Linked DNA regions of Homo sapiens: regions 1, 3 and 4 are each linked to region 2. The links are contacts of gene promoters, found by promoter capture Hi-C in blood cells and fetal thymus (Javierre and others, 2016). All regions are on one chromosome and are shown on one strand. Each heading gives the region's core, a stretch centred on a gene start or on the middle of the fragment in contact. The rest is flanking DNA. Distances are from core to core; before and after follow the strand shown.

The links. The method cuts DNA at HindIII sites, captures the fragments that hold promoters and counts their contacts. A CHiCAGO score of 5 or more calls a contact.
Region 1: a contact is called between a fragment that was not itself captured here and the fragment with the promoter of ARHGAP30 in region 2, in 1 of 17 cell types (erythroblasts). The highest score is 5.5, in erythroblasts.
Region 3: a contact is called between a fragment that was not itself captured here and the fragment with the promoter of ARHGAP30 in region 2, in 3 of 17 cell types (monocytes, naive B cells and M0 macrophages). The highest score is 6.1, in monocytes.
Region 4: a fragment that was not itself captured here is called in contact with the fragment with the promoter of ARHGAP30 in region 2 in 2 of 17 cell types (neutrophils and fetal thymus); the score reaches 5.9 in neutrophils.

Annotation. Positions count from the first base shown.
Region 1 is chr1:160,767,119-160,769,818 of GRCh38, forward strand. No RefSeq gene overlaps it. Among named protein-coding and RNA genes, the nearest start is that of LY9, 28 kb to the right of the region's middle. RefSeq lists enhancers at 825-874, 905-1,354. The HindIII fragment of the contact is 361 bases long and covers 1,151-1,511 here.
Region 2 is chr1:161,068,613-161,071,312 of GRCh38, forward strand. ARHGAP30 (Rho GTPase activating protein 30) reads right to left here and starts at 1,279. Exons shown (of 12, transcript NM_001025598.2): 1 at 916-1,279. The coding sequence starts at 1,012. It overlaps NECTIN4 (nectin cell adhesion molecule 4), which reads right to left. Exons shown (of 9, transcript NM_030916.3): 9 at 2,386-2,700. RefSeq lists an enhancer at 572-1,118 and a silencer at 1,015-1,164. The HindIII fragment of the contact is 15,879 bases long and covers 1-2,700 here.
Region 3 is chr1:161,382,475-161,385,174 of GRCh38, forward strand. No RefSeq gene overlaps it. Among named protein-coding and RNA genes, the nearest start is that of TRV-CAC1-1, 16 kb to the right of the region's middle. The HindIII fragment of the contact is 1,796 bases long and covers 360-2,155 here.
Region 4 is chr1:160,677,648-160,680,347 of GRCh38, forward strand. It overlaps CD48 (CD48 molecule), which reads right to left. Exons shown (of 4, transcript NM_001778.4): 4 at 1,099-1,484. The coding sequence ends at 1,405. Among named protein-coding and RNA genes, the nearest start is that of SLAMF1, 32 kb to the left of the region's middle. The HindIII fragment of the contact is 1,041 bases long and covers 927-1,967 here.

The sequences.
Region 1 (2,700 bases), core at 81-2,580, 300 kb before region 2:
GTGAGCTGGCTTAGAGCACCAGGAAAACGAAAGGAAAGGATGTGTAATTAAAAAGGGGAAAAAGAAGAAAAAACCCATGCTACCCACAGTGGTTAGTCACTAATCTGCATTACTTTCACCACACTGAAAACTTGGAGAGGAGAGAGGAAGAGATACAGAGAGGGGAGGGGGGAGAGAGAGAGAGAGAGAGAGAGAGAGAGAGAGAAAGAGATAGAGAAAGAGAGAGAGAAAGAGAAAAGCAACTCTGGACGTCATGTATCTTCTCTTAGTCCTATGACCATGAGCAAAATGCTTAGTTTCTTGGAACCTCAGTTTTCTCTTCTATAAAATGTGAAAGATACTTTCTACCTCATAGGATTGTAGTGAGATTAAAGGTAAAGATAATCATACACGTAAAGTGTTCAGCAGAGTATAACATCACAGTCCTTCGACAGAAGTTACCTCATCATAAAGAGACTACTGGCTAATTATATAGATTCCATTCAGAACTGAGCCTCTAGAACTTTAAGTATAAAGAGTAACTGAAGACCTGAGAATAGCAGTTAATCATATCATTATAAAGTTGAGGCATATAATAAGAGGCAGCTGACCAGTGCTCACAGATCAAGCAAAGTAGCAAACACTCCCCTCTGTGTCATTCACTCATTCACGCCACCCTTACAGAAGGCTTGTCAGCTATAAGGCTCTGAGCTGTTCCTCCCCTCACTCCTCCGGTGCTCTTTCTAGCTCCTCCTCTTTGCTGTGTTCTCCATGTTCCCTCCCAGTCACTTGCATGCTGGGACCTGTGCATCTCCCCAGGAGCAGAAGCAAGCCTTGCTGAGTCAGGCTGCTAAACGGACTTTCTGGTTCTGGAGGTTCTGCAGGCCCAACTGTCCTGTGGGTACAACTCTGCCTGTCTCCTCCTGGTCAGTTAGGGACCTAGCACAATCCCTCTGATTGCTTGGCTCTGTGGAGAGCCTGTTCCCTGCTCCCATCTCACTTGGACCCAGTGAATTTCATTCATTTCCTGCTTTGCCTGGTCCCTGGATCTGTCTGATGCCTACTGGTCAAGCCCTGGTCTGACTTCCTACCCAGCCTCATACCCTCCAATCCAGGCAGCCTCCTCGCCACTATGACAACCGTAGGGTCTGGAAGGCCCCATGGGAATGTAAGCTTCATAAACGGAGGGAATTTTTGTCTGTTTCCTTCACTTTTCTCTTCCCAGACCTAAATCAGTCCCAAACATCTATTTAAAACTTACACAGAGAATTTTGGAGCTGGAAGAGACTCTAAGGATCATGTAGTCTAACTCCCTCATCTCAGAGAGAGAAAATGAAAGCAAGGTCACAATGCAGGCTGATGGTGACAGGATCCTCCAAGCCACACAGCAAGCCCTGGGTTAGCTCACTGCTGCCTCCTCTTGGCCCAGCTGGCAAACCATGCACATATTCAGCAATTTTACTAGTCTGTTTCTTGTTTTGTTGTCTGTTTTTCAATAAAATATAGAACCTTATGAAAATACCTGCACATTAAGCTTCATGAACACTGAGGAAAACACACAGTATTTCCTCTTCTTCTTCTTCTTCTTTTTTTTTTTTTTTTGAGATGGAGTCTCACTCTGTTGCCCAGGCAGGAGTGCAGTGGTGCAATCTTGGCTCACTGCAACCTTCATCTCCTAGGTTCAAGCAATTCTCCTCCCTTAGCCTCCTGAGTAGCTGAGGAGCTGGGATTACAGGTGTGCACCACTACACCCAGCTAAATTTTGTATTTTTAGTAGAAATGGGATTTCACCATGTTGGCCAGCTGGTCTCAAACTTCTGACCTCAGGGGATCCACCTGCCTCAGCCTCCCAAAGTGCTGGGATTACAGGCATGAGCCACCGCACCCGGCCTTACACACAGTATTTCTGTAGAGTAAAACTGTTGAATGGAATCTGCTTCTTAAAGTCTTCTAAGGGAAGAATATTGAGGTAACATAATCTGAATGAGAGTCTAAAAAGAATACAAGGAAAAGAATAGCTTAGAAGGCAAAATATAAGGCTGTATGAATAGAAAGGAAATAGATACCCCTGAATTTTGTGTCCATTTTTCAATTTCCTTATTGCTTCGAAATTTAAAATAAACATCAGCAGGGATGTGAACTCTCCCTAGCCAAACCCAGAACTGTGGGAAAGGCAAACAGCAATGGATAGGTTGCTTCTCTCACAGAGACTTTCATTCATTCATTCTGTTTTTGTTTTTGTTTTACATTCACTTACTCTGTAAGACAAAGTAGCAAACATAAGAGGCCATGTTTGCTCATTCAGCTGCCAGCAGAATTTCACAAAGCCCCTGACTCAGTGACTGAGGACAGCCCTTCGGAAGGATGCCCTGAAGATGATAAGAAGGATGGAGCCCAGGTTACCACATCTCTTACCTAAATCACTGCATTTTTAGAAAAGATAAATTCAATGATCCTGGCCTTTGTCTTTTTGCTGTACATAAGATAATGGTTGACAGGATTAATCATTATGCCTCTGTAATCTATAACTAGATGTACCCTTGCACCCAAACTTTGGTGAAATTTTGCTCTTACATAACTTTTGAGCACAGGCAGAATGACTGTCACCTTATGTATAAGCTGTAGGCTGAAACACTGCTTTGGAGCAGTCTAACAGAAACTCTCCGAAAGACTCTCCTGGGTTGCCAACCTCAGTAAGACTAAATAAAACTCACTTTAATT
Region 2 (2,700 bases), core at 29-2,528:
CTTGAAGTGCCAAAAACAAGCTGGGCTGGGCAGCCAGGGTGCCTGGGTTCAATTTCAAATTGAATCAAGAAATGATTTTGAGTGGCTGCTCCATGCCAGGCCCCGTTGTGAACCTGATATTGTCCCTGGTCCTTCTGGCTTCAAAGCCCACTCTAAGGTAACCCAGGGAGGGAGCTGGGTGAGCTCCACAGACAGCTCCACACCCACCCTCCTTTGCACCCTCCACCTCCAGCTTCAAGCCAGGCCTCACACCCTCTCTTTCATTCTTCCCCATTTCAGCAGCTTCTCCCCTTGCCCCCCACTTTGAACCTGTTTCTCTTTTGCACAGGGACAACAAGAGAATCACAAAGACTAGGGGCAGAGGTTGTTTCCAGCCCGACATCATCCCCTGCGGCCCAGCAAGGCTGCAGTGGGAACAGAGCCCATGACCTTGTCCTTGGGTGTTCTCCAGCCAGGAAACCACCCGCCTCAAGGGCCATCTTGAGACCCTTCTGGGGCCATTTCCCTGTCTCCTTTCATTCAGACCTAAGGATAATCATTTCCCCTTCAGCCACTCCTCTCCTGACCCTGTCGCCTCACCCTCCCTCTCCTGTTCCCAGTCACCTGCCCGCTGTTTCATCCACTCCTCCTCGGTTTCCAGTCTCTCCATCCTCCCCCTCACTGCTACCTGGGTACTCACATTCTCATCCCCTCAGCCACCCCATCCCCAGAAAGTTACACAAGGGAGCCGCCCTGCCTTCTTCACTGAGCCACATTTCCTGTCTTGCCCACTTACAGTTCTCTTGAATGGTGACCCCAGGCCACTGCCCCTTCCCCAGGAGCACCGGAAACTGCTTCTGCCCTTCAGGCTGGATCGGGCTGCAGATGCCCAGTGCCTCCCCACCCACCCTGCAGAAGCTGAGCCGGCCTCCTTACCCTCCTGGCCTGAGTGCTGCAGGTGCTCCTGCAAGTCGCACCCAAAAACCCGCTCCTTTGCGCTGCCCTTCTTCTTTCCTTTCTGCCGAGACTTCATGGCCAGAGCCCCAGGGCACTGGCCCGGTCACCTCTATCCCCCAAGACCTGTGCCCTACCAGTCCCCCATGGGATCCCAGCCAGCTGCTGGGCTTGGCCCGGCCCCAGGGGGGCAGGGCTCCCAATTGGGGGTGGAGGGTGGCCTGGGCAACGGGCAGCAGCTCCTGCCCCTGGGGCCCCGGCCACACGGAAGTGGCTGTTGAAGAGGAAGCTACCAGGACCCTGGCAAGAAATTGTGTCCTGTGTCTCGTGGCCCAGCCTGGCACTCGCCCTCCTCGCCCCGCTCAGCTTTAGGGGGCAGGAAGCAGTGCAGCTCCTTAACCCACTTCCTGTTAGAGCATCTTTGCAACCACAGGGCCTAGGGTGGGGGAGGTAGCTGACATTCACATCCTCACCCTTTGCTTGGACTTCATTCATTGGTCAGGGGAGGTGATGTCAGAGCCCTGGGGTGGGGTGATGGCGTCTGTGGTGTGAGCAGGTGACCAACTCCCTTAGAGACCAGAATTCTTGGGTCCAAGGTAGAGACCTGGGGCTTGCCTGGGAGCAAGTTGACACAGGGCTGTAAAAAGCACACTCACAAGGGAGGATGCCTGGGTTCTGCCTCTGATGGATCTAGCACCTCAGTCAAATCGCATTACTTCACTGAGCCTCAGTTTCCAAACCTAGGAAAATGAAGGGAGCAGACTAGAGGACCTTTAAATCCTCCCACCTCTAAGAGTCTGTAAAACTCATTTAACTTGAGTTTCAGTTTCTTTACCTGTAAAAAAGGGTACACTGCTGCCTATTTCACATAGCTGTTGTTGAGTCTCCAGTACAATAAGGAATTCAGGCTGGGCGCAGTGGCTCACGCCTGTAATCCCAGCACTTTGGGAGGCTGAGGCGGGTGAATCACCTGAGGTCAGGAGTTCGAGACCAGCTTGGCCAACATGGTGAAACCCTGTCTCTACTAAAAATACAAAAACTAACTGAGCATGGTGACGGGTGCCTGTAATCCCAGCTATACGGGAGGCTGAGGTGAGAGAATCGCTTGAACCTGGGAGTCGGAGGTTGCAGTGAGCTGAGATAGTGCCACTGCACTCCAGCCTGGGTGACAAAGTGAGACTTCATCTCAAAAAAAAAAAAAAAAGGAATTTAAAACACTTTGCAAACTAAGGTACTGGCCATCCTCGAAAGGGTTCTTAGCTTCACTTTCCTACCAGGGGACTCTCAGAGATGGCCAAAGGCCTTGTGGAGGCCAATTCTTTCCCTTCCCTCCCAGCTACAGGCATCCTAAGTCTTCCCCTACTTGGGACTACAGGAAGGATGGTACCGAGACAGAGAGTATGTGACTCAGAGCTTACACAGTTCAAGGGGCAAGACAGGAGCCAGACAGAACAAGTTTTGTCTGTTTATTTAAAAACAGAATATCATTTTATGTACAAATATGCACATATTTACATAAAATGTACATGTTAGGATCTTAGATCTTCAGGCTCCACATTCGAAGTCCTAGGCTGGCTGGGGAACGAAGGATGGGAGCCTCTCCCTTAGGCCAGAAATCCAGCAGATTTCAGACTAAGAAGAGTTTGGGTACTAAATCTAGGTATTCTGGCTGAGTGTATCTGGGTGGGCCAGCTAAAAATAAACCTCATTGAACTCCAGCCCCAACCCAGAGAAACATCCAGAAGAGCCTTGAATTAGTGATCCAAA
Region 3 (2,700 bases), core at 8-2,507, 310 kb after region 2:
AAGAGCTGGGGACAGAGTTAAGTTTTATAAGGAATTAGGGATATGAGAAGCTCTAAGAGCCAAGATTTGGGTTATTCAACTCAGAATGGGCAAGGAACCTCAGCTTCATGATGGTAAAAAATTCCACCACCTCTGCCCAGAAAAAGGTGATTCACATCCTGATATCACTGTGTACTCAGGGAAATAGCTCCCCACAAGGCATTGCATTAGGGAGAAACTATGGTGAGGAACAGCGATGAGCAGGACATGAAGAGTGATGGTCCTAAGCCAGATATGATGTCATGAGGGTGAACTCCAGGACCTCCTGTCCTTCAGGACGATCCCACAGTCTCACTAACCACTGAGGGCAGATGCAGAAAAGCTTTGCCTTCCCAGAGACTGATCAGGGGAAAAGGTACTGGCACAGCCTCTTCAGTTCCTGGCAGGGACGGGCAGAGACTAGCCCACATTGAAAGTGGCCCCTTGGGGGATTATGGGAGGATCCTTGTGTCCTGGGCTACCCTAGGTCTCATCTGATCTTGCACAGTGAAAGCTACTCATGGAAGAACTCCCTTAGCAGGGAAGCCGTTAGAGTGAAATCTTTCCTAACATTGACTCTGGTTTGTGGAAGTATATGACATTTTTCTCCATTCTCTGTAGCACTGTGGTCTTACCCTCTGAAGAGAATGTTTGTTGGTTGCCACCTCAGCATGTATCTTCCACCCCCTTTACAATTTTTGATAAGAACACAAAAAGAAATGAAGACTAAAAATGGCCCAGTTTCCTAAGATTGTTTTCTGATCCTATAAAATCTAATTCCTTAATGCAGCTCTGTGGTCCTGCTCTTTTGCATACCTAGCTTGAGAATGCTGTCTAGGAAGGGACTCATTTGAAGAATTATTATTTCTGCCAATTCCCACATCTTTCTTTCTCTTGCCTTCACTTCCTCCTTTAAGAGGTGAATTTTCAGACACATTAAAATTCTGGAGGAAAAAAGTGGGCTAATTAGGTGTGGTGACCCTTCCTGGATGCAAAATGTAGCATAATTCTCTAGGAATCCATCAACAAAGAAGATAGGCCATTGAGGAAGATATCTCTCTCCCCAAACATATTGGTTGCTAAAGGCCAGCCCCCAGACCATGATTCCTAAAGTAACAAAAGGTAATGTGAAAAATAATGGAATGTTATTTAGACTTGAAAAGGCAGGAAATTCTGACACATGCCAGAACATGGATGAAACTTGAGGACATTATGCTCAGTGAAATAAGCTAGTCATGAAAGGACAAATGCTGTATGATTCCACTGATATCAGGTACTTTGAGTAGCCAAATCATAGAACAGAAATTAGAAGAGTGGCTGCCAGGAGCTGAGGGGAGGGGTGATCGGGAGTTATTGCTTAATGAGTACAGAATTACAGTTTTGCAAAATGAAAAGAGTTCTGGAAATGGATAACGGTGATGGTTGCAAAACAATATGAATGTATTTAATACCACTGAGCTGTACACTCACAAATGGTTAGGATGATAAATTTTATGTTATATAATGTTACCACAATAAAAAAAATTGGGAAAAAAAGCAATATGACACTTACTGAGGACTGCCAAGGAGTAATGAAAGGAGATACCAGTGACTGATGCCAGGATGAGATCTTGTGTCTCTCTTTTTTTTTTTTTTTTTGAGACAGAGTTTTGCTCTGTTGCCCAGGCTGGAGTGCAGTGCCATGATCTCAGGTCACTGCAACCTCTGCCTCCTGGGTTCAAGCAATTCTCATGCCTCAACCTCCCGAGTAGCTGAGATTACAGGTGTGCACCACCATGCCCAGCTAATTTTTGTATTTTAGTAGAGATGGGGTTTCACCATGTTGGCCAGGCTGGTCTTGAACTCCTGACCTCAAGTGATCTGCCCGCCTCGACCTCCCAAACTACTCTAAATTTTACCCTCTCCCTTGTCTTTTGTCAGAAATCTTGCACAGAGTAATTTCCTAAAAAGTCTAGATCAAATTAAAAAACTAAAAAAAGAAGCTGGACTACAGTCTATCTAGATCAGTGTTGGTAGTCGCATCATCATTATAGTAGTGATTAAATTAAAATGTAACCAAAAAGGTTTAACTTATTTTTGCAACAACCAAATGTAAAACTAGAATAATAATAGCACATTTTGCATATGAAAAAATTGAAGCTTAGGAAAGTTAAGTAACTTCTCCAAGAACACACAGTAAGTTGTAGAACCAGTTACCAAACTCAGGTAGTCTGGCAAACCCCCACACCAGCCTGTTCCCAAAAGTCCAGACCCTGAAATCTGAAATCTCTAGCCTTCATCTAATTTGATTGGTTAAACAAATTGAATAAATTTATTTCCTACGGGAATGCTCAGATGTTTAATTTCTTTTCTTTTTTTTGAGACGGAGTTTTGCTCTTGTTACCCAGGCTGGAGTGCAGCCTTGTTACCCAGGCTGGAGTACTCGGCTCACCGCAACCTCCGCCTCCCAGGTTCAAGCGATTCTCCTGCCTCAGCCTCCCTAGTAGCTGGGATTACAGGCATGTGCCACCACACCCAGCTAATTTTGTATTTTTAGTAGAGACGGGGTTTCTCCATGTTGGTCAGGCTGGTCTCAAACTCCTGACCTCATGTGATCCACCCGCCTCGGCTTCCCAAAGTGCTGGGATTGCAGGCGTGAGCCACCGCGCCCGGCCTGTTTAATTTCCTAATGTTTACTGAGAC
Region 4 (2,700 bases), core at 197-2,696, 390 kb before region 2:
CGGATGGGATGCAGACTGCTCAGAAGTGAGTTTGGATGGGGATGCAGGCTGCTCAGAGGTGATTTTGGATGGGACTACAGGCTGGGCTCAGGGTGGGGGGTTTCTTCGGAAGCCCAGGCTGTCTTGTGGAAAAGACAAAACCCTACCTTTCTTATCATGCTTGTGCAATGTAGGGCAGGCAGCTGCCTTCCAAACAATGGCTCCGATGCAGTTCCTTGCATCATATAGCCAGACTTCCGAAGTCCTTCACTCCTGCCACATCCATGCCGCCCACTTTCTATTGGACAGATTTCATCACATGGCTCCAGCTAAACACAAAAGTAGCTGGGAAAAAGAGTTTTTTCACTCACCCAGGGGAAAATGAGAAGGTTTGGCAAACACATAGCACTGTATCTGTCACCGAGGAGATGGGGTGAGGAGGGAAGGGCCACGAGGGAGATGGGGGAGGCTGGTCTGGTTTGAAAGGCAAGCAGTCTGTGGTGGGCAGTTTTCTGAAGGGGAAGTGCATTCTGTAGTGACCCTTTCAGCTCCAGGCACATGAGGAGACTTAGAGGAGGGGACATTAAGCAAAAATCCCAGGTGTTATGTCAGTGGTGGGCCTGGGGGCGCCTACCTGCATATAGTGGACAACTCTGGTGAGAACACTGTGTCGATCTGATGGTTTTTTTGGATCCAGTGAAACGACTAGGAGTTGAAGACTTGCCCACACAGTCAATGGAAAAGAGGAGAGAGAATTCAGCTCCCTATGCGAGGCTTGTGGGGCAGGAAGGCTTCTTATGAGATAGAGCTGCATCCTTCCTTCTGCGAGAGCAAGCCTGAACCTATGTTTGCAGCAGACTTAAGGAGAGTGGTCCTCAGAGGGGTCAGAGCAAGGCAAGCCACTGGGAAGGAGGCAAAGGCTTGGCAGGGGAGCTGGAGCCCCAGGAAGCTTAGCATGGATGTTGGAATAAGGGTCAGAAGTAGCACAAATTGGCTCCTCAGCTGTGTTGACACACAGGAGCCGGTGGCTCCAGGCTCTCCCCTCTGTGTCTCCAGATTCCAGTTTCTCCCAGCTGATGGAGCAGGCACTGTCTGACAGATTTGGGACAACTTCAGGAATTCAGTTAATTGACAATTATATCAAATGTTTATTTTAAAAAATAATAAAACATTCACATAATGTTGTCACAATTTTGGGTGGGAAAAAAGCATGTGTATCTCTATATCTCTGTGTACTAGAAAACAACAAAGGGATATAAAATTAAATAATAACCAGTATTTAAAAGTTAACTTGAAAATCCTCGTTGATAATTCAGCAGCATGCTTCTGGTCAGCCTATACAGTCTCTGTCCTGGTGAGGAGCATGATCACCAACAGGCAAGATCTTCTGGCCTTGAAGTTTCGCTTGAGTTAAAAGAGCTCATCTCAGGTAAGTAACAGGCCAAGAATGGTGGGCACCGTGACCACTAGCCAACTTGCAATCCATTCTACTCCAAAGGACCGGGCTGAAAGAGCAAGAAAACCCTATATGCTTAGGTATCTTTATCTTGACTAATGTATTGAGAAGGGGCAAGTGTACTGGACACTGGTGTGGGAGCTCACAGAGCAGGGAAATTAATTTCTTCCCTGAATCCCATCCTATTTGGCTGGGACATTCTTTTCCTCAATCTCCCCAAACATAAAGTATAAAAAATGCAGAAATTCCTTAAATATCACTGGCTTACCTGGGCCCTGTGCTCAAAGGTTACCTCGACATATCTGTGGCCTGGGAAAGCATTGCTCCCCTACTCTGGACATCAACGAGGTAGGGTAGATCTTCAGGTACAGACAGATGACCACATGATACAATGCACAGCTGACTTTAGAGAGAAAAGGACCACTTCCTTTCCTTGTTTCTCTACCCCACTAAGTATCTGCACCAACTAGGAAGAAGAAGGGAAGAGAAAGGAAGACAGAAAAGGAAAGGAAAAGAAAAAGGATGGAAGGAAAGCTTAGATGCTGGGGTGGGGAAGGGCTGAGCTGGAGAAAATAAAAAAAAGGAATGAGTGATACAGTAGGGAAAGGAGTTTGAGGGGGCTTTCTAGGATAATTTCGGTGACTAAAAAGTGACAGATGGGTTTACCCTTCCAAAAAAAATGGATTTATTATTGCTTTTATCCTCTCTTCGGATGAACAGTCACACCCATTTTATAGAGGACAGGGAATGTGCGTCTTCCTTTTTCTGGATCTCAGGATGTGATATTGATATGAGGGTGGTGTTGGAACCACCAGCCAAATTGTGTTCTCATGGTCAGATACCACACTGTCACAGTGGGTCTGTGGTGGCAGAAGAGCAAGGCATATCAGGAGAGGCTGGTAGAGACAGGGCCAATTAGTTAGGAAGAATAAGGAAGAGCATACACAGTCTCCGTAGTCCACATGTGGGAGTAGAGATAAAGAAATCAGTGCAGTTAAGGAGGGTAGACAGAGCCCAGGAAGACCACAAAACAGCAACGTTCTCAGAGGCCAGAATCCCTGATGACTGGGCATGACAGGGGTCACAGGTGAATGTGAGCACCTCAGGTCTGAGTTATTCTAGAAGAATGTGTACGCTAGGGCTCAGGGATCTGACTTCAGGATTGTGGAGGGTATCTGACTCTGGTATTTCCCAGAGTGCTGGAGATATTGATCCAAGTTTATTAAGGGTCCCCAAAACTCTAAGAGACTGCGTCTCATTTAGCT